Regions from separate parts of the Homo sapiens genome. Here all the other regions are linked to region 1. Evidence: promoter capture Hi-C in human tissues and cell types (Jung and others, 2019). All regions are on one chromosome and are shown on one strand. The core of a region is centred on a gene start or on the middle of the fragment in contact, and the rest is flanking DNA. Distances in the headings are between cores, read along the strand shown.

The links. Contacts are between HindIII fragments. The study calls those that stand out against the background at their distance.
Region 2: a contact is called between a fragment that was not itself captured here and the fragment with the promoter of ZNF66 in region 1, in 1 of the 25 tissues and cell types used here (aorta).
Region 3: a fragment that was not itself captured here is called in contact with the fragment with the promoter of ZNF66 in region 1 in 1 of the 25 tissues and cell types used here (bladder).
Region 4: a contact is called between a fragment that was not itself captured here and the fragment with the promoter of ZNF66 in region 1, in 1 of the 25 tissues and cell types used here (pancreas).

Annotation. Positions count from the first base shown.
Region 1 is chr19:20,772,027-20,778,974 of GRCh38, reverse strand. ZNF66 (zinc finger protein 66) reads right to left here and starts at 2,671. Exons shown (of 4, transcript NM_001355197.2): 1 at 2,525-2,671. The coding sequence starts at 2,527. The HindIII fragment of the contact is 10,177 bases long and covers 1-4,616 here.
Region 2 is chr19:21,181,798-21,188,745 of GRCh38, reverse strand. It overlaps ZNF431 (zinc finger protein 431), which reads right to left. Exons shown (of 5, transcript NM_133473.4): 5 at 1-6,123. The coding sequence ends at 4,712. It also overlaps the pseudogene VN1R82P. Among named protein-coding and RNA genes, the nearest start is that of ZNF431, 43 kb to the right of the region's middle. The HindIII fragment of the contact is 3,792 bases long and covers 1,891-5,682 here.
Region 3 is chr19:20,434,480-20,441,427 of GRCh38, reverse strand. The region is part of intron 1 of LOC105372317 (a long non-coding RNA gene); the gene reads right to left. Among named protein-coding and RNA genes, the nearest start is that of MIR1270, 39 kb to the right of the region's middle. The HindIII fragment of the contact is 4,344 bases long and covers 1,551-5,894 here.
Region 4 is chr19:21,032,692-21,039,639 of GRCh38, reverse strand. ZNF430 (zinc finger protein 430) reads right to left here. Exons shown (of 5, transcript NM_025189.4): 3 at 6,058-6,184; 4 at 5,456-5,554. Among named protein-coding and RNA genes, the nearest start is that of ZNF430, 16 kb to the right of the region's middle. The HindIII fragment of the contact is 7,227 bases long and covers 1-6,948 here.

The DNA of each region.
Region 1 (6,948 bases), core at 1,422-3,921:
TCAATATCCAGTTGCAGGCTTAATTATTAGCCTTAGCTTGGAGTCACTAGGTTCAAGCTTTAATTTCCATGTCAGAATTACTCACTTAGTTTTTGAAACTATGTGTTTGAAAAATCCAGGGAAATTACTCAAACGCAGTGTTTACATAAGGGAAGGAAATTTTAAGGTTCTTACTTTTTTTTTTTTTTTTTTGAGACGAAGTCTCACTCTGTGGCCCAGGCTGGAGTTCAGTGGCATGATCTCGGCTCACTGCAACCTCCACCTCCCGGGTTCAAGACATTCTTGTTCCTCAGCCTCCCAAGTAGCTGGGAATACAGGCATATGCCACCACACCTGGCTAACTTTTGTATTTTTAGTAGAGATGAGTTTCACCATGTTGGGCAGGCTGGTCTCAAATTCCTGACCTCAAGTAATCAACCTGTCTAGGCCTCCCAAAGTGCTGAAACTACAGGCATGAGCCACTGCACCTGGCTAAGATGCTTGCATTTTATACCCCTATAAGAAAAGCATATATATCTACTTCTTTCAGACAATGTATGTATTATTTTATTATTTATCTTAAAAATAATGCAGTAGGCCGGGCACTGTGGCTCACGCCTCTAATCCCAACACTTTGGAAGGCCAAGGTGGGTAGATCACGAGGTCAGAAGATTGAGAACATTTTGGCCAACATGGTGAAACCCTGTCTCTACTAAAAACACAAAAAAATTGGCTGGACGTGGTGACACACACCTGTAATCCCAGCTACTTGGGAGGCTGAGGCAGGAGAACTGCTTGAACCTGGGAGGCAGAGGTTGCGTGAGCCGAGATCACGCCACTGCACTCCAACCTGGTGACGGAGTGAGACTCTGTTTCAAAAAAATAAGTAAATAAATAAAATAATGTAGTAAAAAATTAGTCATATGGGAACACTTCTAGAAGGTACCATGTTTCATCACTTAAAATTTAGCATTTAACTCAGAAATCAAAATAAAAGGATATAGAAAAAATTTACCCTGCAAAAAGAGGAACTAATGTGTTGATGAATCCATGTAACTCCTCAATTATCTACCACATTTTCCTGTGGAAATATATTCATTGTCTACAGCCAAAATGGAAGAGAGATTTTCCCTATATTTTTCCTTGGTAACTAGCATTCCTGGCAAACATGGTGAAACCTCATCTCTACTAAAAATATGAAAACTAGCTGGGAGTGGTGGCGCTTGCCTGTAGTCCCAACTACTGGAGAGGCTGAAGCAGGAGAATCGCTTGAACCCATGAGGTGGAGGTTGCAGTGAGCCAAGATCTGACACTGCACTCTAGCCTGGCGACAGAGCAAGACTCCGTCTCAAAAAATAATAATAATAATAATAATTAATTGAGGAACATGGGGGACACTTGAGGCCCTGCTTGGGACACATGTGAAAAATGCCAGGGAAAGTCAGTCCCCTGTGGGATGTGAAAATAATTAAGTGGCAGGCAATTAGACTGAAGAGGCTCTAGTCCCCGGATTTCTATTTCTAAAAAAAAAAAAAAAAAAAAATCTAAGCTCAAGTGCATTTTTTGGCAAATTACTACATTAGGGGAAACAAAATTCAGGCTTCAGCAACTATAAACTGCCAATTAAGCTCTAATTACATAACCAGGAAATTTCCACCTTGATTGTACAAATTAAGAAACTACATTACTAAACCTAACAAATTATTGAATTTGGTTTTCCTCATCATGCATTTTATAAATGTCTTTTCTTCAAGCCTCTCCCATGGACCACAAACTACAAACTATAGCTGGGTGCTCTACAATTCTTGAATCACTCTTTGATTAAATTGTTTGATATTTTTGCAGTGACTCCCATAATTTTTTTTTTTTTTTTTTTTTTTTAGACAAGAGTCTTGCTCTGTCGCCCAGGCTGGAGTGCAGTGGCAGGATTTCAGCTCACTGCAACCTCCGCCTCCCGGGTTCAAGCGATTCTCTCACTTCTGCCTCCCGAGAAGCTGGGACTACAGACATTCGCCAACATATCCACCTAATTTTTGTATTTTTAGTAGACAAGGGGTTTCCCCATTTTGGTCAGTCTGGTCTTCAACTCCTGACCTCAAGTGATCCGCCCGCCTCGGCCTCCCAACGTGCGGGGATTACAGGCTTGAACGACCGCGCCCGGCCCCATACAATTTTAATAGCAGAAAAGAGAAACTGTGAACCCCACAGACCAAAGCTCTTCCCATTCATGAACCCGCACCGCGAGTCAGCATTCTCCCCTGAAGACCCTCCGGTGGTCCCTGCACAATCTGGGAGAGACACGGCACTGCGGGTGCAGAGCTGCCCACAGAGCGCTCCAGGCCAGGGGCACAGTCACTGCGCGGGGAAGCGACAGGACGCCCGGGGGCCAGGCTGTCAGCGTAGCCGCCATCTTATGGCTGAATGGGACTGAGGCAGAGCTGGGTAAGGAGAATTCGGGGTGCAGATTGTGGAGCTGACTGAGGGGAGGCCTGAGTCCCGCCACAGACACTTCACCTCTCTCGGGATGCTGGACCGGCACTCTCACCATTTCTAGGCTTCCAGGGGGTCCTGGCGTCTTAGCTGTGGATCTCCCAATACCTGCAGGACACAGGGCCACAGAGGCTGGGCCTCTAGGAGAAGAAGACAGAGAGCAGTGAACAGACGACCTGGAGCTCCAGCTGCAGGGAGAGACAAAGACCCCGCCAAATCCGGAAGCCGTCCTGTTCATTCCAGCTGCGTGCCTGATTGGACGGTTTCCAGCCCAGCGCCTCTGATTGGCTAATGCTTAAGGTCCCGCCCCCTCAGACACTGAGTGACAGAAGATGTGATCAGCTGCTGGGCGGAGTGAAGAAAAGAGTGACAGCCTAAGCTGCAGCCTTTTCAGGCAGGGCTTCCTCCCAGAGCTGAGCCTGGTCCATGCCAGAGCATGGGAACATTTTATCTCTTTTTTACTCTCTGTCTTGTTGAATGTATTCAAAGGTGAACAGAAGTATTTTGCTGTCATATTAATAATACATAAAATTTTTGTTCAAGAGAAAATCAGCTTTTACTTTGGTAATAGTGTATTAACGATTAAAGCTAATTTTAATAAAACCTTATAAATAAATCAAATTTGTCATTTTTGACCACTCCAGATTTACATATATATTTTGTAATCCCTGTAATTTTTTTATCTATTTATATTTTATTTTTATCCACATTCTTCTTATTTTTTCAACTTGAAACAACCTTTAAGTAATTTCAAACTGCTATAAGAGATAGAAATAATTTAGGGTCAGGCACAGGTAGCTCATGCCAGTAATCCCAACACTTTGGGAGGCCAAGGTGGGTGGATCACTTGAGGTCAGGAGTTCAAGACTAGCCTGGCCAACATGGTGAAACCCCATCTCTACTCACAATGTAAAAAATTAGCTGGGTATGGTGGTGCACATCTGTGGTCCCAGCTACTCCGGAGGCTGAGGCAGGAGAATCACTTGAACCCAGGAGGTGGAGGTTATGTAACAGCCCAAGGGGTTCATTTTGCCCTTTGCCTAGACAGAGCCAATTCATGAAGACAGGAGAATTTATGGAGGAAAAGTTAAATGTTAAATTTGAACTCAATTGAACGTGGACACAATGGTCACCAAGTCCCAGAACAGGTCCTGGTTGTGAGCCCCTGAGGTGTTCATCCAGAGCTGTATCAAAGAAATGTCTATTTCATTCTATTACTATACATTAGTTGTTGAAAAACAATAGACAATCACAAAAACAACTTGACCCTTTTGTGTTCCGTGAGGCAAGTCCCAAATGGCCCTCCTCACTGGGCCTTATGCCAAACAACTCGTTACAAAAGAGCTAGGGTCCCAGACCACCCTGAAGCTTCATGAGACTCCTTGTCTGTGCATGAATGGGTGGCCGACTCTGGAGCCTGGGCTGTTTCTTCCTACTCAGTTGGTAATCCTCCATAGTCTAGTGAGGGTAAATATATATATATATCTTTTCCCATCTCCTCTTCTTACTGCAATTTGCTTATTATATCAATCTGTGTATTATATTTATTTGCTTATTATATCATTTGCTTATTATATCATTAGTTTATTCTGTCTGCATTGATATTGATGTGGGTTAAAGCTTGTTTACCATTAAAGTTATTGTATGTATGTCTTTTCTTCTCCTCTCCCACGTTTCCCATACAGAACATTTTTGGCATCACAAACAGGATTTGAAAACAAAAGTGGGCCCCTTTTTGACCAGAAGGATAGGGCTGGAGGCTCAAGGATTTCCCATATCCTGAGATGGGATCACTCCCAGTTCTCCTTCTTTGTGATTGAATGGTTCAGGGGAACTGGCCTTTGTGGGAATTGGGAATCTAAATTAGTGCAATTTAAACCTTTGACTGTGCGTGAAGTGCTGCAGGGGATTCCAGTCACCAAAGGAGATGCTGAGGGAATCTCACAAAGTGGATAGTGTTTGATTGCTGCTTATAAGTTAATGTGTCAAGATAGGGGCTGGTTGCTACAAGAGAAATATAAGCTGGAAAAGGAAAATGCTAATCTGACTTCCGGACTGGCCCTGGCCCAATGCCAGTCAATGTCTTGACTGATCAGGCTCAAAGCTATCAGCCTATTGCTGAAAAAAGCAGCTGTCCAGGTGGCCCAATCAGGGTAAAACTGAAGAACTAGTCAGCCGGGGCTTAGAGCATGTAAAAACCCAGTTCCTATCTCAAAAATGGGAAATTAAGCCTAGTAAAATTAAGGATCCGCACAAAGTGTAAAATTCTTTGGCATCCTATGGAATGCAAAGAAACAGTCCACTTCACCAAAGGCTAAGGCTAAAATACTATAATTTGCAACCCCTACCACTAAGAAGGAGGCCCAGAAATGTATTGACTTGTTTGGATTCTGAACACATCATATTCCTTACTTGGGTAACATTTTACAACATCTGAATGCAGCCACTAGAAAAAGGTATGACTCTCACTGTGGAGAGAAAGACAGCATGGCTTTTGAACAAGCTAAACAAGCAGTGCAACTGGCCCTGGATCTATGGCCTATATGGGATGGGCCTGATGAACTGCGAGTAACTGTCGTAGATCAACATGCTAATTGGAGCCTTAGGCAGAAACAAGATGGAAAGAGGGTACTTTTCATGTTTTGGACCCAGAAACTGCCAGAGGCTGGAAAAGCTTATTCCTCTTTTGAGAAGCAATTGTTAGCTTGCTATTGAGCTTTGCTGGAAATGGAACACCTCTGCTTCAACCACGATGTCTTTATGAGGCCTGAAATTTCTATTATGACTTTGGTCATGAGTTCCCCCAAAACCCACCAGATAGGGCATGCCCAGAAAGTAGCATCATAAAATGGAAATGGGACATACAAAACCAGGCTAAGCCAAAATCATAGGGGCTATCACTTTTACATGAGGATGTGGAAAACCTGCGAGCTCAGGAAACAACCAAGCAAGTCCTGCAGATAGGGAAAGAAACACCCCCCACACACACACATCAAATGGGGCAAATCCTTTAAAGAACTAAGCCCAGAGGATCAGAAACATGCTTGGTTTACTGATGGATCCACCAAATACTTTGGTGGGACCCAATGCTGGAGGGCTGTGGCTTATAATCCTGTTAAAAACATAAGCATTTCTGATGAAGGAAGGGGTGGGAGCAGCCAGTTAGCTGAACTAGTAGTCGTTTCTCCGAGCTATTCAGGAGGAGGCCAGAGGGATTTGTTACTTTTATATCAACTCTTTGTCAGTAGCAAATGGTCTTACTACCTGGGTGCCCAAGTGGCAATGAAACAAATGGTTAATGCGGAATAAAGAGGTTTGGGGAAAACAATATTGGTAAGGTATCTGAATCCTGGTGCATACTCCCATCGTCACTGTGTTCCATGTTTTTTTGTTGTTGTTTTTTGTTTTTGAGATGGAATCCAGCCCTGTCACCAAATTGAAGTGCAGTGGTGCAATCTCAGCTCACTGCCACCTCCATCTCCACGGTTCAAGTGATTCTTCTGGCCTCTGCCTCCCAAGTAGCTTGGATTACAGGCACAGGCTGCCACGCCCAGCTAATTTTGTATTATTTTTTATTTATTCATTTTTTAGATGCAGTCTCACTCTTTCATTAGGCTGGAGTGCAGTGGCACAATCTGGGTTCACCACAACCTTCATGTCCCAGGTTCAAGCAATTCTCCTGCCTCAGCCTCCCGAGTAGCTGGGACTACAGGCACACACCACCATACCCAGCTAATTTTTGTATTTTTAGTAGAGATGAGGTTTCACCATGTTAAACAGGATGGTCTCCATCTCTTGACCTCCTGATCAGCAGGCCTTGGCCTCCCAAAGTGCTGGGATTAGAGGTATGAGCCACCATGCTCAGTTTATTTTTGTAATTTTAGAGACGGGGTTTTGCCATGTTGGCCAGGATGGTCCCAATCTCTTGACCTTGTGATCTGCCCACCTCAGCCTCCCAAAATGCTGGGATTACAGGTGTGAGTCACTGTGCCTGGCCCTGTTTTCCATGTTGATGCTAGTGTGTCTCTGCTTCCTCTTGACAGACTATTTAATCAGCAGGAAGATCAACAGGCAAAAATTTCCACCATAACTGTGATCTTGAATGTGGGTAAATGGATTACAACATGTTCAAGCCTTGCAATGAGAAGCATAATAATGTATGGTGGAATAATTGATAGTGATTACCGGGGAGAGTTAAAGGACATTTTATACAATACCTCTCCAGATTCTTTTGCTATAAAACCACAGATGCTGGTTGCTCAATTGTTAGTGGTACCTTGTCCACAATTAACCCCTGAGGAAATCTTTGCCCAACAGAGGCTACATACAGAACTTGGGGATTCAGATCCCCTGGTACAGGAAGCTTAAATCCTGGAGCCAAAATATGGGTACAGCGTCCATCAGATCCCAACCCTAAGGCTGGTGACCTTGTAGCTATGAAAGCAGAAAATGAAGGCATAGTACAATTTCCTAAAGATG
Region 2 (6,948 bases), core at 2,537-5,036, 410 kb before region 1:
TTTAATCCAAACGCTGTCATGATCTCCAAATGTTTTTCAGAGAAAATGACCCAAGAGTTGGCTACAGTTTGGTGACTAAAAATAAAAACTGTAGACTAAACCTCTCCCACTAAAAAATATATAAAAAATGAGTGAAAAATTTCTCCAAATTGTAAAATCAATATAGAAAAGACATTATTTTTCAAAATTTTAAATCCACTGAAGTCATTTCATTATTTTGTAACCTTTAACACTCACACTTAAAAATAAAAGATTCTGCATGGAAATATAAGTTGTGCTGTAAGTATATCATAGAAAATTAACTTTAAAATTGTTTACTTACCATTAACTCTCTTAAAAATTTAATTTCTGTATTTTCAAGCAAGTTTTATATTTGCCACACTTTGTATAAGAATCTAGTAAGATTTTTCTTTTAAAAACAAAGCTGACTAATTTAATTATCTTACCTGTGGACAGTATTGCACCTTTTATCTTTTTTTTTTTTTTTTAGACAGAATTTCGCTCTTGTTGCCCAGGCTGAAGTGCAGTGGCCCAGTCTCGGCTCACCGCAACCTCTACCTCCCAGGTTCAAGCGATTCTGCTCCCTCGGCCTTCCGAGTAGCTGGGATTACAGGCGTGCGTCACCACGCGTGGCTAAATTTGTATTTTTAGTAGACACAGGGTTTCACCATGTTGGTCAGGCTGGTCTCAAACTCCTGACCTCAAGTGATCCACCCTCCTTGGCCTATCTCAGTGCTGGGATTACAGGCGTGAGCCACACCTGGCTGCCTTTTAACTGTTCTGATAAGCAAACTCTACAGTTAAAACCAATTTTTGTGTGCACTAAAAATACCAACTTCCTCATCAAAATCTACAAAGTACCATGTGAAATGAAATGGCATGAAGACAACAGTAAGAAAACTGTAGCTATAACTCAGAAAAAGAATAGCTGTGATGCATACATAGTTGGAAAATGCATAAGACAAATCTGAAGAGAAGTAGAAAATAAAAGAATTTCTCTTTTTTTTCAGATGGAGTTTCCCTCTTGTCGCCCAGACTGGAGTGCAATGGTGCAATCTCGCCACACTGCAACCTCCACCTGTCGTGTTCAAGCGATTCTCCTGCCTCAGTCTCCCGAGTAGCTGGGATTACAGGCATGCGCCACCACACCGGGCTAATTTTGTATTTTTTAGTAGAGATGGAGTTTCTCCATGTTGGTCACCTGGTCTCAAACTCCCGACCTCAAGTGATTCGCCCACCTTGGCCTCCCAAAGTGCTGGGATTACAGGCGTGAGCCACCACGCCCAGCTCTTTTTTTTTTTTTTTTTTTTTTATATGGAGTCTCGCTCTGTCGCCCAGGCTGTAGTGCAACGGCACAATCTTGGCTTACTCCAATCTTCACCTCCGGGTTCAAGCAATTCTCCTGACTCAGCCTCCCGAGTGGGATTACAGGCACCCACCACCATGCCTGGCTATTTTTGTAGTTTTAGTAGAGACTGGGTTTCACCATATTCATCAGGCTGGTCTCAAACTCCTGACCTCAGGTGATTCATCTGCCTCTGCCAGAATTTCTCTTTAAATTCAACAAGATTCAGTTTTACAGTCTGGAAAAAAAATGTCCTCTCTATATGAACAATCAATCTTCACCATTGATATTTTTCATCTTTGACTTGAAGTTACAAACTAACTTCAGCAGGAATATTTATGAATTATTATGGATAATCTATTACACAGTGAAAACTGTAATATATGTTTGCTACATTTATATATAAAAACATCCTCATGACTAATGAAGCCTCCCTAGTACTTAGCTGAACAAATTGACTCAATAAATATGCTTATGTCAATTATAAAAAGTGAAAGGAACAAATCACTAAAGAAAACCTATATATTGTTCTCCTCTTAAAAGAACAAAATGGAGTGCTCTAACTAAATAAAATGTAACTTAATACACTACTTTTGGAATTACATCTAAAGATTATTTTGTGTGCACTAAATTTCATAAAAATTCTTATAATCGCAGACCAGCTCACATAATGAATACTTCATAAAATATAAAACAAAAAAAATGTAAGAAACAAAAAAAGTATGGGTCTAGCATGAGTACCAGGCAAGTATATACAGAGAATTTGCTTGGGAAGATTCAGAACTCTAAGTCATAGACTGTACAGTAATAAATTCAATACAAACCAAAAAGTATACATTTGCTTTCAGCATTTTTTAGGTTTTTAGTTTTATAGTAGTCACCATATTAAAATGATTTTTGTTCCCGTATCATTCTTTCCTTCTGAAAATATGTACAAACTCATACTCACACACACATACTTAACTCCATAATTTTCTTACACCTAAGATTTGTCTTTAGACTAACATGTATTTAACTCTATATGAATCAAAACTAAAAGTCTGTATATGTTTGCAGGCAGACAGGCCACATGTTCAAAGAAAAATATATAGAAAATTTGAAAATATATTTTACTTTTTGAGATGGAGTCTCGCTCTGTTGCCCAGGCTGGAGTGCAGTGGGGTGATCTTGGCTCATTGCAACCTCCACCTCCCAGGTTCAAGCGATTCTCCTGCCTCAGCCTCCTGAGTAGCTGGGATTACAGGCACATGCCACCACGCCTGGCTAATTTTTGTATTTTTAGTAGAGACGGGATTTCTCCATATTGGCCATGCTGGTCTCGAACTGCTGACCTCAAGATCCACTCCCTCGCTCAGCCTGTCAAAGTGCTGGGATTACAGACGTGAGCCACCACACCTGGCATGAGAAAATATTTATTAAGAATTTAGAAATGAATTTCATTTATACTCGTATATAATTTTTATTATGACGATAAAAATAACACTGTGGTAAATAAAAATTTAATTGTACATTTAAAAATTTTTTTTTAAAGTGTAGAATTGGATTGTTTGTAAAACAAAGGAGAAATGCTACAGATGATGGATGCCTTACTTAACCCTGCTACTATTATATATTGTATTCTCCTATTAAAATATGCTACAGGCTGGGCGTGGTGGCTCAAGCCTGTAATCCCAGCACTTTGGGAGGCTGAGGCGGGCGGATCACATGAGGTCAGGAGTTCAAGACCAGCTTGGCCAATATGGTGAAACCCCATCTCTACTAGAAATACACAAATTAGCTGGGCATGGTGGCTGGCACCTGTTATCCCAGCTACTTGGGATGCTGAGGCAGAAGAGTTGCTTGAAACCAGAAGGCAGAGGTTGTAGTGAGCTGAGATCATGCCAATGCACTCCAGCCTGGGCGAAAGAGTGAAACTCAGTCTCAAAAAACAAACGAACAAACAAACAAAAGAATCTCTCTCTTTGATGTAGCAACAATTAACCCCATGCTTTCACATGTGAATCCAATAGGAATGAAGAAACAACAGGAAATAATTTCAGAGTTGAATGATGACATTATTCAATTTTCAAAAAATCTGTAATATTTTTCAAGAAATAAAGTATACTTTGAATGTAATTATAACTCTGCAAAAAACCTTCTGATCCTCTTAAAGTTCTATACAAATAACTTTTCTACCAACTTTAGTTTCAGATTTTCTATACTTAGCACTCTGATTTAGTATATCTGAAGTGTCAGTACCTTATATATTTCTACCATAAATTCTCTGATATTTGCATAGACTTAATTATGGATTAAATATTTTACTTTTACTGCATCTGGAAAAAATATATTCTAGTATAACTGTTGATTTCTAAGCTGTAGTTTTTGAAAAATTGTTTTTCCAAATTTATTATATTTGCACAATTTTTCAATATAAATTCCCTGATGTTGAACAAAGTTTGATCAACTGCTTCAGAGTTTTCCTCTAGAAGAAAATGTCTACAAAAAGATCTGTGATACAAGTAAAGGCACTACAACCCTTTTTATATTTGTGATGTTCAACTTCAAAATAAATACTCTTCACTAAAAAAGCTTATATTTTCTGAAAGATCTTTTGACAGTAATTGCACTTATAATGCTTTTATTAAGCAGGAACTCTCTGTGTTGAGTAAAATGTGAGCAGATAATGATGGCTTTTTCACAGTCTTTATATTTGTATAATTTATCTCAAGTATAAATGCTTTCCTAGCAATAAAGTGTGAGCATTAAGTTTTGCCATATTGTTCACACATGTAGGCGTTTTCTCCAGTATGAATTATCTTACCTACAATGAAGTGTGACAACCATTTAAAGGCTTTATCTCACTCTTCAGATTTCTAGGATTTCTCACCAGTATAATTACTTTTATGGTTAGAAAAGTTTGAGGCGTTGTCAAAAGTAGTCACATCTTTCTGATTTGTAGAGTTTCTCTCCAGTATAAATTATCTTATGTCTGTTAAGAATTGAGGGCTTCTTAAAGGCTTTGCCATGTTTTTCACACTTGTGGGGTTTTTGTACAGTATAAATTTTTTTTGAGACGGAGTCTCACTCTGTTGCCAAACTGGAGTGCAGTGGTACAATCTTGGCTCACTGCAACTTCCACCTCCCAGGTTCAAGTGATTATCCTGCCTAAGCCTCCCGAGTAGATGGGAATACAGGCACGTGCCACCACACCCAGATAATTTTTGTATTTTTAGTAGAGACAGGGTTTCACCATGTTGGCCAGGATGGTCTCGATCTCTTGACCTTGTGATCCACCCACCTCAGCCTCCCAAAATGCTGGGAGCCATTTTGCATAAGCCACCGCACCCGGCCAATATTTAATGCTTAGTAAGAGTTGAGGACTGCTTAAAGGCTTTCCCACATTCTTGACATTTGTAGAGTTTCTCTCCAGTATGAATTATTTTGTTTAATAAGGTTTGAGGACTGGTTAAATGTATTGTCACATTCTTCACAGTTGTAGGGTTTCTGTCTAGTATGAATTTTCCTATGTTTAGTAAGAGTTGAGGATTGGTTAAAGGCTTTACCACATTCTTCACATTTGTAAGATTTCTCTCCTGTATGAATTATCTTATGTTTAGTAAGATTTGAGGATCGGTTAAAAGCTTTGCCACATTCTTCACATTTGTAGGGTTTCTCTCCAGTGTGAATTCTCTTATGTGTAGTAAGGATTGATGACTGGCTAAAAGCTTTGCCACATTCTTCACATTTGTAAGGTTTCTCTCCAGTATGAATTATCTTATGTGCAGTAAGTTGTGGGGACCGGTTAAAAGCTTTGCCACATTCTTCACATTTGTAGGGTTTCTCTCCAGTATGAATCATCTTATGTGTAGTAAGGTTTGAGGACTCATTAAAGGCTTTGCCACACACTTCACATTTGTAGGGTTTCTCTCCAGTATGAATTCTTTTATGTTTAGTAAGGGTTGAGGACCAATTAAAGCCTTTGCCACATTCTTCACATTTGTAAGATTTTTCTCCAGTATGAATTATCTTATGTTTAGTAAGGTATGAGAATCGATTAAAAGCTTTGTCACATTCCTCACATTTGTAGGGTTTCTCTCCAGCATGAATGAACTTATGTGTACTAAGGGTTGAAGACTGGTTAAAAGCTTTGCCACATTCTTCACATTTGTAGGGCTTCTCTCCAGTATGAATTATCTTATGTGTAGTAAGGTGTGAGGACCGGTTGAAGGCTTTGCCACATTCTTCACATCTATATGGTTTCTCCCCAGTATGAATTATCTTATGTGTAGTAAGGGTTGAGGACTGCTTAAAAGCTTTGCCACATTCTTCACATTTGAAGGGTTTCTCTCCAGTATGAATTCTCTTGTGTCTAGTAAGGGTTGAGAACCATTTAAAAGCTTTGCCACATTCTTCACATTGGTAAGAATTCTCTCTAATATGAATTCTTTTATGTTGACTTAGGTGTAAAAGCATGCAAAATGATTTGCCACATTTTTTACATTTGAAAGGTTTCTTTCCAGTATGTCTTGTCTTATGTCTATTTGCATTTAAAAATTTATGAAAGACTTTCACATATTTATCACATGGAAATATTTTGCTCTGGGTAGTTGTCAAACACTGGTTTAGCTCATTATAACCTTCTTTGTGCACCTTATACTCATCTACACTTGCGGAGCCTTTTCTTAACTGTAAATTCTCATGTTCACATTTGCCATATCTTCTCAGTATTACTTGTTGAAAAGAATCTTTTATGTCTTGCTCTGGCCAAAGGTCTTTGGTAAAATAAGAACACATAGCTGAAAGAAATACAAACAACAAATTATTCAACTTACTAGACTCTGATAAACATACTTTACAAATCTAACCTACATTATACAAACTACATAAACAAGATGCCATAATAAAATACCATAGGCCCTAAATCCTTCATAGACATATAAATCTAATAAAAATATACTGACCAAAATATATTTGAGGACAACTTATAAACAAGTGTGTAAAGTTCCCCAGGTGAGCACACAGGTGAGTACACAGGAATGCAAAGACACAGAAGAAAAAGAAAAGTCTGTTACATTTACCCAACACAGTTCTTCCTACTCAACAATACAACATAGTGCCTTTCAAAGTAAATTGCTAACTTTTCGTTTCTTTTTTAATAAACAAGTAAAACACTGGCACATACATCTATATTACTTGCTTCTAGGGGCCCTTCCAGAAACTGGTCTCCCATAACATAAAGTGCTGAAAGAAATGGTGGTATATTTTGGAATTACAGTTTACTTCTGCTGAGACCAAAGGTAAATGTTACAGCAACAGAGAGACTGCAGTACCACAGACAGGGAACAGATACAGCAAATGACTGCTGATTAAGATGAAACAGAAACTCCTTTAACTAAAAAATAAACACAAAATTTTAGACAAGACACATTCAAAGAACATGTTTGAGAGTCTCACAGGATCTCAAACCAAGATAATTGTTTTCAGACTATGCCAGGACAAAGCTACATTATAAACAATGTGACAGGTAGCTATATTTAATGTCCAAATATTAATCAAAGATTACAATGAATACAAAATAGGGCAAAATCGCTCCACCAAAATTATAAGATTTTCAGAAAGAA
Region 3 (6,948 bases), core at 2,473-4,972, 340 kb after region 1:
GTTTAGAGTGGGTAAAAACCCAGCTCCTATCTCAAGGATGGGAAATTAACCTTAGTAAAATTCAAGGACAGGCATCTAGTGTAAAATTCCTTTACATCCTATGGAATGCAGGGAAATCATCCATTTTACCAAAGGCTAAGATGAAATACTAGAATTTGCAACCCCTACCACTGAAAAGGAGGCCCAGAAATGTATTGGCTTGTTTGGATTCTGGAGACATGATATTCTCCACTTGAGTAACATTTTACAACCTCTGCATGCAGTCACTAGAAAACACGATGACTTTCACTGGAGAGAGAAAGAGAGCATGGCTTCTGAACAAGCTAAACAAGCAAGTCAACTGGCCCTGGATCCATAGCCCTTATGGGATATGCCAGTAGAACTGCAAGTAACTATCCTAAATCAACATGCTAATTGGAGCCTTAGGCAGAAACAAGATGGGAAGAGGCTACCTTTTGGGTTTTGGACTCAGAAACTGCCAGAGGCTGGAAAACCTTATACTCCTTTCAAGAAGAAATTCTTAGCTTGCTATTGGGCTTTGCTGGAAACAGAACACCTCTGCTTCAACCATGATGTCTTTATGAGACCTGAAATTCCTACTATGACTTGGGTCATGAGTTCCACACAATCTCATCAGATAGGGCACGCCCAAGAAAGTAGCATCATAAAATGGAAATGGTACATACAAGATCAGTCTAAGCCAAAACCAAAGGGGTTATCACTTTTACATGAGGGTGTAAAAAACTTGACAGCTCAGTAAACCACCAACAAAGTCATGCAGATAGGCAAGGAAACCTCCCTTGTACAATGGGGCAACTCCTTTAAAGAACTAAGTCCAGAGGATCACAGGCATGCTTGGTTTACTGATGCATCCACCAAATACATTGGTGGGACCTGATGGTGGAAGGCCATGACCTATAATCCTGTTAAAAACATAAGCATTTCTGATGAAGAAAGGGGTGGGAGCAGCCAGTTAGCTCCCAGTTAGCTGTCTTTTGAGCTATTCAGGAGGAAGTCAGAAACATTTGTCACTTGTATGCCAACACTTGGTCAGTAGTAAATGGTCTTACTACCTGGATGCTCCAATGGTAATGAAACAAATGGTTAATTGGGAATAAAGAGGTTTGGGGTAAACAATACTGGGAAGATATCTGAATCCTCTTGCACACTACCATTATCACTGTTTTCCATGTTGATGTTTATGTGTCTCTGCTTTCTTTTGACAGACTATTTAATCACCAGGAAGATCAACAGGCCAAAATTTTTATTATAACTGCAAACTTGAATGTGGATGAATGGATTACTATGTGTTCCAAGCCTTGCAATGACAGACATTATAATGTATGGTGATATAATTGATAGTGATTAGTGGCCTTAATGCTCCACTTAAAAGATACAGAATAGCAGAATGGATAAGAATTTAATAACCAAAAATCTGCTGTCTTCCAGAGACTCACCCAACACACAAAGACACACATGAAGTTAAGGTAAAGGGTTGGGAAAAGATAGTCCATGCAAATGTACCCCAAATGCAAGCAACAGTAGCCATTCTTACATCAGACAAAAAGACTTTAAAGCAAAAACACTTAAAAAAAGAAAAAGACAAAGTGGGACATTACATAATGATAAAAGGACTAGTCCAACAAGAAAATATCACAATTCTAAATATATATGCCCCTAACACTGGAGCTCCCAATTTATTAAAAAATTACTACTAGACCTAAGAAATGGGATAAATGGCAACACAATAATGATGAGGAACTTCAATACTCTACTGACAGCACTAGACAAGTCATCAAGACAAAGTCAATGACAACAACAACAAAAAAAGGACTTAAACTATAATCTAGAACAAACAGTCTTGACAAATATTTACAGAATATTCTAACCAACAACTGTAGAATATACATTTTATTCATCAGCACATGAAACATTCTCTAAGACAGACATATGATGGGCCACAAAACAAGTCTCAATAAATTTAAAACAATCAAAATTATATCAACTACTCTCTCAGACTACAGTGGGATAAAAGTGAAAATCAACTCCAAATGAACCCTCAAACCATGCAAATACATGGAAATTAAATAAATACATGGAAATTAAATAAAACATAAAATTTACAATCAACCTGTTTTTGAATGATTGTTGTATGAAATCAAGATGGAAATTTTAAAAATCTTTGAGCTGAACAATAATAATGACACAATCTAACAAAACATCTGGGATACAGCAATAGTGGTGTTAAAAGGGAAGTTCATAGCATCAAGTGCCTACTAAAAAGTCTGAAAGAGCATAAGTAGACAATCTAAGATAACACCTCAAAGAACTAGAGCAACAAGAACAAGCCAAACCCAAACCCAGCAGAAAAAAAGAAATAACAAGGATCAGAGCAGAACCCTAGCAGGAGGGGTGGCTGCAGTCTCTGTGGACCAGCAGACTTAGCCTTTCCTCCTGCTAGTTTTGAGGGATTTAAGCAGCCCAGATGAGTGGATTTTCCCACAGCAAAACACCTCCCTCCACCAAAGGACAGTCAAAGTGCTTCATTAAATGGGTTCTGCTCCCCATCTGCTCCCCATTCCACCTTCAATAGGAATTGTCAGACACCCTATACAGGAGCAATTCTACTGGTATCAGATTTGTGTCTCTTGAGGTCAGAGATGACAGAGGAAGGAACAGACATTCTTCTTTGCTGTTCTCCAACCTCCTTGAGTAACATCTCTAGGCACGGGAGTGAACCAGATGGATAGGGCTTGAAGTGAACCCTAGCAAACTGCAGCAACCCTACAGAAGATGGACCTGACCATTGAAAGAAAAACAAACAGAAAGCAACAACAACAGCATCAACAAGAAAAAAAAGTACCCACAAAAACCTCATCCAAGGCTGCACATAGTGGCTTACACCTGTAATCCCAATACTTTGGCCAACATGGTAAAACCTCCTCTCTACTAAAAAATACAAAAATTAGCCAGGCATCCTTGTGCATGCCTGTATTCCCAGCTACTCAGTAGTCTGAGACATGAGAATCACTTGAACCTTGGAGGCAGAATTTGCAGTGAACTGATATGGTGCCACTGCAGTCCAGCATGGGTGACAGAGACTGTGTCCAAAAAAAAAAAAAAACCATCCAAGGGTCAGCACCCTCAAATGATTGAAACTAGACAAACTCAAGATGAGAAAGAATCAACAAAAAATGGCTGAAAGGCCAGAGTGCCTCTTTTCCAAATGATCAAAATGTCTCTTGAGCAAGGGTACAGAACTGAACAGAGAATGAGATGCATGAATTGACAGAAGTAGGTTTCAGATGACGGTTAACAACAAACTCTGCTGAGCTAAAGAAACATGTTCTAACCCAATTCAATGAAGCTAAGAACCTTGATAAAAGGTTAGAGGAACTGCTAACTAAAATAACCAGTTTGGAGAGGAATATAAATGACCTGATGGAGCTGAAAAACACAGCACGAGAACTTCATGAAGCATACAAAAGTATCAATAGCCAAACTGACCAAGCAGAAGAAGGATATCAGAGTTTGAAGACCACTTTGCTAAAATAAGGCATGCAGACACGATTAAAGAAAAAATAATAAAAAGGAACCAACAAAGGCTCTGAGAAATATGGTGTTCTTTGCAGGAAATGAGTGAGTGGAGAAGAAAAGACATACACACAAAATACCTTTAAAGATAAACAAGATTTATCCCACGTAAATGGCAATGCAGATATAGTAAGTAAATTTATATAATAAGAAAATTGCAATGGGAAGGGGAGAAGGGAATATATATATATATGTGTGTATATATATATATATTTACACTCACCAGACTATGGAGGATTTATCACCAGACCAGGAAGCAACAGTCTGGGCTCCAGAGTCAGCCAACAGTCCTTGCACAGACTAGGAGAGGTTTCTTGAAGCTTTAGTGTGGTCTGGGACCCTAGCTCTTCTTGTAACAAGTTGTTTGGCATGAAGCCCAGTCACGAGGGCCCTTTGTGACTGGGCTCAAGAAACACAAAAAGGTCAACTTGTTATTGTGATTGGCTATTGTTTTACAATAACTAACATATAGGAATAGATTGAAATAGAGACTTCTCTGAAACAGTGCTGAATGAACGCCTCAAAGGGGCTCACACAACCTGTGCCAAGACTTGGTGACCTTTATTTGTGTCCACGTTCAATTGAGTTCAAATTTAATACTTAACTTTTCGTCAACATTCGGCCTCAATTCGGTACTCAATTGTATTAAAATACCGTTATAGATACATGGGGAACTCATAGTTGACATAGATTATGGATACAGGGTAAGCATAGGAGAATTAAAAGCACAATTTAAAAAAAAAAACATACTCATGGCTTTGCAAGGAGACTAATATTGTGAGAATTGCCAGGGATATACACACAACATCCAGTATGCAGTAAGGCGCAAACCCCTCCTTGGGCTGCGGTAAGCATATCTAATGCCATTTGATTTTGCAACACAACAGTACGCAGCTGAGCAAATTCATCTGATAACAGCATAAGTCCAGTGCTACTATCATTAAGAGCTTTTTCTACATATAAGCTTAATATTTTAATTTGTTGGTGAAGCAGGATTGTTCTAGCGGCAGGGGAGAATACTGTGATAAGGTATCGCCACCAAGGAGGCCGGCACATTCATAACCAGTGGTGTTTGTAAGCATCCAGATTACTTGGGAGGGGGATATTATCCCGGATGGTGAATGGAATTAATGGCCACCCACAAGTGATCTCCCTGCCCAGTGTGGGGGCAGGTACCAACACCCACAGGATCTGCATACCCAGAGGGCCCCCCAGGGGACAGCCATGGACCTACTGTAAACATACTGTACTAATGTGTTATTAAAATAGGAAAGAGATTGTGGTTCATTGGGGGCAATGTTGTTGATTTGGAGTATGTGTTGACAATTGTCTGGAGAAACCCCAGAGTAACATTAGAGGAGCCATTTAAGGCCTCCAGATGAAGCAGGGGCTGTGTGGAATCCAGCCACCAGCACAGCAGGTTTCCAATATATACCGTTCCAGGAATATTGGGCAAAATACCAAGGCTTTTGATGGAAGGTGAGGGTGGAGTTCACCTTTTGTCTGACCTGGGCAAAGACAGATTGCTTAGTGTGGTGAAAGGAAGTCCAGGTTGGATTACAAGTGTTGTTGTTGTGGCCCCATTGATAACGACATAGCCATTCAGAAATATTGTCAGGGACGATTCTTCAAGGTAGCCCATTCCTGGCAGCCTCTGGCAACTCGATGTACAGCCAACATTCTCTGTGATTGGCTTTTGTTGCAGCAGTGGCTACCTAGTAAATGAATTTATTCTTGGCTTTAGACACAAAGACACAGGTGCTGACCATTAGTAGATAGGTTATTCCTTGTAATAACAAAAACAGAGGGGAACATATTGTTTTTCATCTTTAGGAAATTGTACTATGCCTTCATTTTCTGCTTTCATAGCTACAAGGTCACCAGCCTTAGGGGCAGGATCTGTTGAACCCTGTATCCATATATTGGCTCCAGGATTTAAGCTACCTGTAGGAGTGGATCTGAATCCCCCAATTCTGTATGTAGCCTCTGTTGGGGCAGAGATTTCCTCACGGGATAATTGTTGACAAGGTACCACTAATAATTGAGCAACAGGCATCTGCGGTCTTATAGCAAAAAAATCTGGAGTGGTATTGTATAAAATGTCCTTTAACTCTCCCCGGTAATCACTACCAATTATAGCACCATACATTATAATGCCTCTCATTGCAAGGCTTGAACACATTGTATTCCATTCATGCACATTCAAGTTTACAGTTATGGTGGAAATTTTGGCCTGTTGATCTTCCTGCTAATTAAATGGTCTGTCAAAAGAAAGCAGAGACCCATGAGCATCAACATGGAAAAAGGGCCAGGAACGATGGCTCATGCCTGTAATCCCAGCACTTTGGGAGGCTGAGGTGGGCAGATCACGATGTCAGGAGGTCAAGATCATCCTGGCCAACATGGTGAAAACCTGTCTCTACTAAAACTACAAAAATTAGCTGGGGGTGGCAACGTGTGCCTGTAATCCCAGCTACTTGGGAGGCTGAGGCAGGAGAATGGCTTGAACTGGGAGGCGGAGGTGACAGTGAGCCTAGATTGTGCCACTGCCCTCCAGCCTGGTGACAGAGCTAGACTCTGCGTTAAAGAAAAAAAAAAAAAAAAAAGGAAAACAGTGATAATGGTAGTCTGTGCCAGGATTGAGATATCTTTCCAGTATTGTTTTCCCCAAGCCCCTTTATTCCCAATTAGCCATTTGTTTTGTTGTCATTGGAGCATAGAGGTAGTAAGACCATTTGCTACTGACCAAGAGTCGGTATACAAGTGACAGATCTCTCTGGCCTCTTCCTGAAGAGCTTAGAATATGGATACTAGTTCAGCTAACTGGCTGCTCCCACCACTTCCTTCATCAGGAATGCTTATGTTTTTGTTTGTTTGTTATTTTTTTTTTCTTTTTGAGATTGAGTCTCAGTCTGTTGCACAGGCTGGAGTACAGTGGTGTGATTTTGGTTCATTGCAACCTCTGATTCCTGGGATTCCAGTGATTTTCCTGCCTCACTCCCCCGAGTAGCTGGGATTACAGGTGCACACCACCACCCTGGCTAATTTCTGTAATTTTTAGTAGAAATGGGGTTTCACCATGTTGACCAGGCTGGCCTCGAACCCCTGACTTCGTGATCTGCCCAACTCAGCCTACCAAAGTGCTGGGATTACAGGCATGAGCCACTGCATCTGGCCAGTAATGCTTATGTTTTAACAGGATTAACAGAAGCCACAGCCTTCCAGCATTGGGTCCCACCAATGTATTTTGTGGATCCATCCATAAATTAAGCATGTTTCTGATCATTTGGGCTTAGTTATTTAAAAGATTGGCCCCTTTGGGTGGATTGTGGGGGGGGTTTCTTTCCTATCTGC
Region 4 (6,948 bases), core at 2,204-4,703, 260 kb before region 1:
CAAAAATTAGCCGGGCATAATGGTGGGTGCCTGTAATCCCAGCTACTTGGGAGGCTGAGGCGGGAGTATTGCTTGAACCTGTGAGGCGGAGTTTGCAGTGAGCCAAGATCACACCATTGCACCCCAGCCTGGGCAACAGAGTGAGACTCTGTCTCAGTAAAATAAATAAATAAATAAATAAATAAATAAATAGCAAAAGTAAAACTGTTAAATCCAATAATATATTTGAAAAAAAAAAACACATGGGCCGAGTGTAGTGGCTCACGGCTATAATACTAGCACTTTCAGAGGCCAAGGCAAGAAAATTGCTTGAGTCCAGGAGTTCCAAACTAGCATGGGCAACATAGGAAGACCCTGTCTCTAAAAATAAAAATAAATAAAATAAAAATAAGGCCAAGCATGGTGGCTCATGCCCGTAATCCCAGCACTTCAGGAGGCTGGTGTGGGCGAATCACTTGAGGTCAGGAGTTTGAGACCAGCCTGGCCAACATGTGAAGCCCCGTCTCTACTAAAAATACAAAAGTTAGCCAGGCATGGTGGTGGGCACCTGTAATCCCAGCTACTCAGGAGGCTGAGGCAGGAGAATTCCTTGAACCCGGGAGGCGGAGGTTGAAGTGAGCCGAGACCATGCCATTGCACTCCAGCCTGGATGACAGAGAGAGACTCTGTCTCGAATCAATCAGTCAATCAAACACACTCTTCAGCTAAAGGTTCAAAAAGTTTAATTTAGTTAAGTTGTCAATACAACCTACAGTGGTGAACAAATTCAATATAACCTCTATAAAAATGACAATAGCACAGTTTTATTACACAAATATTGTTTAAAATTTTTAAATTTCATTATGAACTATAGCCAAACACCCATGAAAAAGAATAAACAGGCATTATACTTCCTGATTTTTAAACATATTAGGCAGGGTGCAGTGGCTCACGCCTGTAATGCCAGCACTTTGTGAGGCCAGGGTGGGGGATCACCTGAGCTCAGGAGTTTGAGACCAGCCTGGTCAACATTGTGAAACCCCCGTCTCTACTAAAAATACAAAAATTAGCCAGGCGTGGTAGTGCACGCCTGTAACCTCAGCTACTTGGGGGACTGAGGCAGAATAATCGCTGAAACCCAGGAGGAGGAGGTTGCAGTGAGCTGAGATCGAGCCACTGCACTCCAGCCTGGGCGACAGAGCCAGACTCCATCTCAAAAATAATAATAAAAAATTAGAAGCTACAGTAACAAAAACAGTGTAATATTGACACAAAGGCAGATGAACAGATGAAAGAACAAAATATGGAGCCCAGAAATGAAACCTTTTATATATAATCAAATGATCTACAAAGCTGCCAAGAGGAAACAATAGTCTTTTAAAAAACAATGTTAAAAACTAAATATCAATACTGATAAAATAAGGTTGGATCATTTCTTTGAATCATATACAAAAATATTTTAAGTAAAATACTTAGACATAAAAAAACTAATAAGTCTCTTAGAAAAAAATAGAAAGAAGACATGACATTGGTCTTGGCACCATTTTCTTAGATAAGACACTAAATGCCTGAGGAACAACAACAAAAAATTAACTATGCTATACTTCAAAATTTCTGCACATTAAAACAAAACATTTAACTCAGTGAAAATGCCTCCGAGAAAATGGGTAAGAATATTTCCAAATTACATGTCACAGTTAATATTCAGAATATATAAAAAACCCTTAAAACTAAGTTAAATAACTTGATTTGAAAATTAACAATTGAACTAAATTTTTATCATAAAAGATACACAAATGGAAAAAGCATTTGAAATGACATGCAAAATTAATAATTTGTAGAGAAACACATAAAAATAACAATGAAAAATGAAATCATGTCATACCCATTACAATGGCCACTATAAATTATTTAAAAACACCAAATCTGTTGATGATGCAATGAAAATAAAACCTATGTCAATTGTTGGTAGAAAACAAAGATGCAGTCATTATTTTTAAATGTTATAAATGTTTCTCAAGTAATTAAAAATGGAATTATCATCAAATACAGCAATCCTCTTTATCAATTTAAAATATGCAACACATGACCTGGAAGACATATTTGAACATCCATGTTTATTGTACTAGTATTCACAAAAGCTAAAAGGCTGCAGCAACCCAGGTGTCTCTTGATTTATAAGCATATCAAAAATGTAACATATGTGTAGAGCGAAATATTATTCAGTCTTAAAAAACAAAATCTTGCCAAGCGTGTGACTCACACCTGTAATCCCAGCACTTTGGGAGGCCGAGGATGGCAGATCACCTGAGGTCAGGAGTTTGAGACCAGCCTGACCAACATGGTTAAACCCTCTCTCTACTAAAAATAAGAAAAAAATTAGCTGGGCATGGTGGCACATGCCTGTAGTCCCAGCTACTCGGGAGGCTGAGGCAGGAGAATCGCTTGAACCAGGGAGGCAGAGGTTGCAGTGAGCCGAGATTGCGTCATTGCACTCCAGCCTGGGTGACAGGAGACTCCGTCTCAAAAATAAAAAAAAAAAAAAAAAAGAAAATCTTGTCACATTTTAAGATAAACTTTGAGAATATTATGTCACCTGAAATAAGCCAGTAACGAAATGATGGATACAGTATGATTCCACTGATATGGGATATTTTAATTAGTCACACTCATAAAAACAGAAAGTGGAAGGGTGTTTGTCAAGGGCTGGAAAGAGGGTAAAATGGGTTGCTGTTATTTAATGGGTATTGAGTTTTAGTTTCACAAAATGTAAAATATCTAAGTCTTTTGCATAACAATGTGAATATAATTAACATGCCTGCCTGAAATGTAGAGCTGTGGTTTTTTTTTTTTTTTTTGGAGACACAGTCTCACTCTGTCAAAAAGCTGGAGTGCAGTGGTACAATTATGGCTCACTTCGGCCTCAAACTCTGAGGCTCAAGTAACCCTCCCACCTCAGTCTTGCAAGTAGCCTGAACCACAGATGCACAACACTATGCCTGGCTATTTTTAAAAAACATTTTGTAGAGAGGGACTCTCCATATGTTTCCCAGGTTGGTCTCAAACTTTTGAGCTCAAATAATCCTGGATTACAGATGTGAGCCACCACCATGTCTGGCCCTAAAAGGTACACCTAAATAGATTTAAGATGGTAAATATTATGTGTTTTTACAACAATTAATTTTTCTAAAGGAAAAACTGAAAAAAATACAGATTTATAAATCTTTTCAAAAATTACCTTCAAATTACAAAAGTGTTTCTCTCACACAAAGGTGAGAGAAACATCATCATTAAACACATGGTGAAAATAAGAGATGGTGAAAATATTTCCATGACTACTCACTTAGGTGAGATAAAACAACCACTGAAAATTGGCTAAGAAAGAATATATACAAGATAAGCCATAACCAATATTGGGGTCATATTTATAGATAAACACACACACACATATATATCTAATTGTGACAGACATATGGCTGATTTATCTCTTAATTATAAGAGATAAACCGAATTGCAAACTGTCTAAAATTATAATACAAAAGTGAAACAAAAAAACACAATAACTCAATGTTAAGAAACCTACACTAACAAAACACTGATATGAAACTGCGCAGTAATAGTAAGTGACATATTTACTCATAAAATCTGCTGTGCAACACTGATATACCATTAAAAAAGAATTTGTCTGCATAACTACAGTAATCCTCTCCGGTACTCAATAAACGCCATACTCATTCACATCCTGATATAAGGACCATTATATATGAACCTGACTGCAGAAACCTGCCCTATTGTCTGCTCTACAGATCAAAGTGTTGAAGGATATTCAGTCTGTCCAAAAATAAAATGGGAATTACCACTACCCAAGCCCCTGTAACAAGCCAACTAAAGGTGGACCCTAGTGCAGACCCAGCAGCCTTGTGACCAAGCTACACCCCCTCTCCACTACAAACCCAGAGAGCATTCTATGACCCTGGAGACATGACAGAAAAAGATCTTTACCTACTGAAACCAGTTTATAGAAGCTTGAGGAGTTGTTTGCTCCTTCAAATTCACAGACACTAATGCAAAACTACATTGTGCCCATTGTCAATGCTTCTATTTTAACATAGCACTGGAAGTATGTGGCAGAATAATGAGTCAAAAACATTTTTAAAAAGCCACTGAAATTGAACACAAGTAAAAAGTTGCTGTTTGTGGATCATATGATTTTATATATAAAAAACCATGAACACTACATTGAAATTTGTCTGAATTAATACACTCAGTAAATTAGCAAAACATAAAATTAACACACAAGTATGAAGTTATTGTTCCATACACTTTAACAGAGAAAGAAAACAATTTAAAATAGCATTAAAATGATAAATTTCTGAGAACAAGGAAGTAAAAAATCTTTACAACGAAAGATATGTTATTAATAAAAGAAATTAGAGAAGACACAAATTTAAAAATATTGCATGTCTACAGATTGAAAAAATAAATATTGTTAAAGTGTCCTATTATCTAAGTAATCTATAGATTCAATAAATTCCCTATCAAAATTTCAGTGGCATTTTTCTTCACAGTAATGGAAAATACAATTCTAAAATTTACAAGAAACAACAATAAACTTCAAATAGCCAAAGCAATCGTGAGGAAAAAGAACAAAGTAGAAAGACATGATGCTTTATAATTTCAAACTATATTTCGAGAATATAGTAATAAGAACAGAATGGAGTGTGCAGAAAAGTTAACAACAACAACAAAAAACAGTGGAACAGAAACCACTACTATTACACATTTCAGACATGATGCAAAAAGAGAACTAAGAAAATAGTTTGGCCAGGTGCAGTGGCTCACACCTGTAATCCTAGTACTTTGGGAGGCCAAGGCGGGTGGATCACTTGAGGTCAGGAGTTTGAGACCAGCCTGCCCAACATGGTGAAACCCTGTCTCTACTAAAAATACAAAAAATTAACTGGGCATGGTGGCAGGTGCCTGTAATTCCACCTACTCAGGAGGCTGAGGCAGGAGAATTGCTTGAATCCAGGAGGCAGAGGTTGCAGTGAGCCTAGATCGTGCCATTGCACTTTAGCCTGGGCAACGAGCATGAAACTCAGTCTCAAAAAAAAAAAAAAAGAAAGAAAAAAGAAAAGAAAATAGTTTAACATAGAGTTTCTCAAAATCATGTAGATATTTGTGTGTCCCCCAAAACAATGGAAAAGCAGTCAGATTGTGAGTCTCGCATGCCATGAAGAGGACTTTGGTTCTGATAGCAAACTTGAAGGGAGATCACCAAGGGGAAAGAATCCTTGAATTTAAAAGCATAAGACAGAAGATGACCCTATGCGAGGGCAAAATTAAAAAAAAAAACTCAGGCTTCCCAGAAAATATTTGCTTTGGAACACAGATTCTCAAATAACATTTTAAGCATTGGCTTTCTTCTTTTTTGGACCTCTCATTCATGTCGTCTGTTGTGTTCACTCTCACCTACCTGGGGGTTGATCTACCATCGCATGTCTCTTCATATTCCAGGGCTCTTTTCCTTGCTCTAGACAGGTGATCAGGTCTGGCTTAGAAACAGCAATACCTGCTTTATTGAAAATAAATAACATGAATCTTTCTCATATTCTTCAGTTACCAACCTAGTACTGTGCTTAGTAAAGAGGATGTGGTAGAATATTCTAGAAAATTAATCCTAAAAATACTAATTTATAACAGAAATTTCTAAGTATTTAGAAAATATTTTACATTTGTAGGTTCTTAATTTCACTGCCTGGCATTCATTAATCAAAAATTGGTGGCGGCAAATAGATTTTAAGATATGGGCAACAATATTTTATGCCACTAAATTTCTGGAATTGCCACTAATCTAGAGTGAAGGATACAGATCAGCCCAGGAATGTGGAAAGTTTAAGTCAAGATAAAACTTCTTGAAAAAATTCTTTCCTATATGGAAAAATCCTCAAGGTTTTCTTAAGAACAAGTATCAGAAACTCATTTATGCAAAGCATAAATTACCAAAAATTATTCTCAAAAAATGAGAAATGAAACCTTTAGGGTATACTAGTAATTGTGTACTAAAGTTATTCTCACCCAAGAAGACCAGGTTTCTGTAGTTCTCTAACATCACTTTTCTATACAAATCCTGCTGAGCAGTGTCCAGGCATTGCCACTCCTCCAGAGAAAATTCTATGGCCACATCCCTAAATGTCAATGGCCCCTGAAAAACACAAGCACACAAGACACACGTATATTTACCAAGTGGCCACGGGCAGAATTTATTATTTGAATTAAAGTGAAATGACAGAATAAAGAGAATTGGTTCTGATTTGCAGGAATGACTGAAATTATCCAATAATTTTTTTTTTTTTTGAGACAGAGGCAACCTCTGCATCCCGGCGTCAAGCGATTCTCCTGCCTCAGCCTCCTGAGTAGCTGGGATTACAGGCATGCACCACTACATTCGGCTAATTTTGTATTTTTAGTAGAGACGGGGTTTCTCCATGTTGGTCAGGCTGGTCACGAACTCTCAACCTCAGGTGAGCCACCCGCCTTGGCCTCCCAAAATGCTGGGATTACAGGCATGAGCCACCATGCCCGGCCCCAATAATTTTTCACACAGAAATATTATCTAATGTTTTCTCTAACTCTGAGAGAAGAGAATGGCATAAGATCCATAACACCAGTATATATATGATACTTCTCTGGATGAGAAGCATAAAATTAAGGGCATAAACAAAAATTTGTACACTTCGAGTGCTATATTTACATCATAAAGTTTGAGTTGTGTATATTTTTCAGACAAAAAAGACATGTTGAGTTCGAAGGTACCTCTCAACTTTAAAGGTGAACAATAAACTGGAGATTCTGTTGTGCAGACTTTTTTTCTTCAGAAGATCTGGAGTAAAGTCTGAACTTCTAAATTTCTTTCTTCTTTTTTTTTTCTTTGAGATGGAGTTTTGCTGTTGTTGCCCAGGCTGGAGT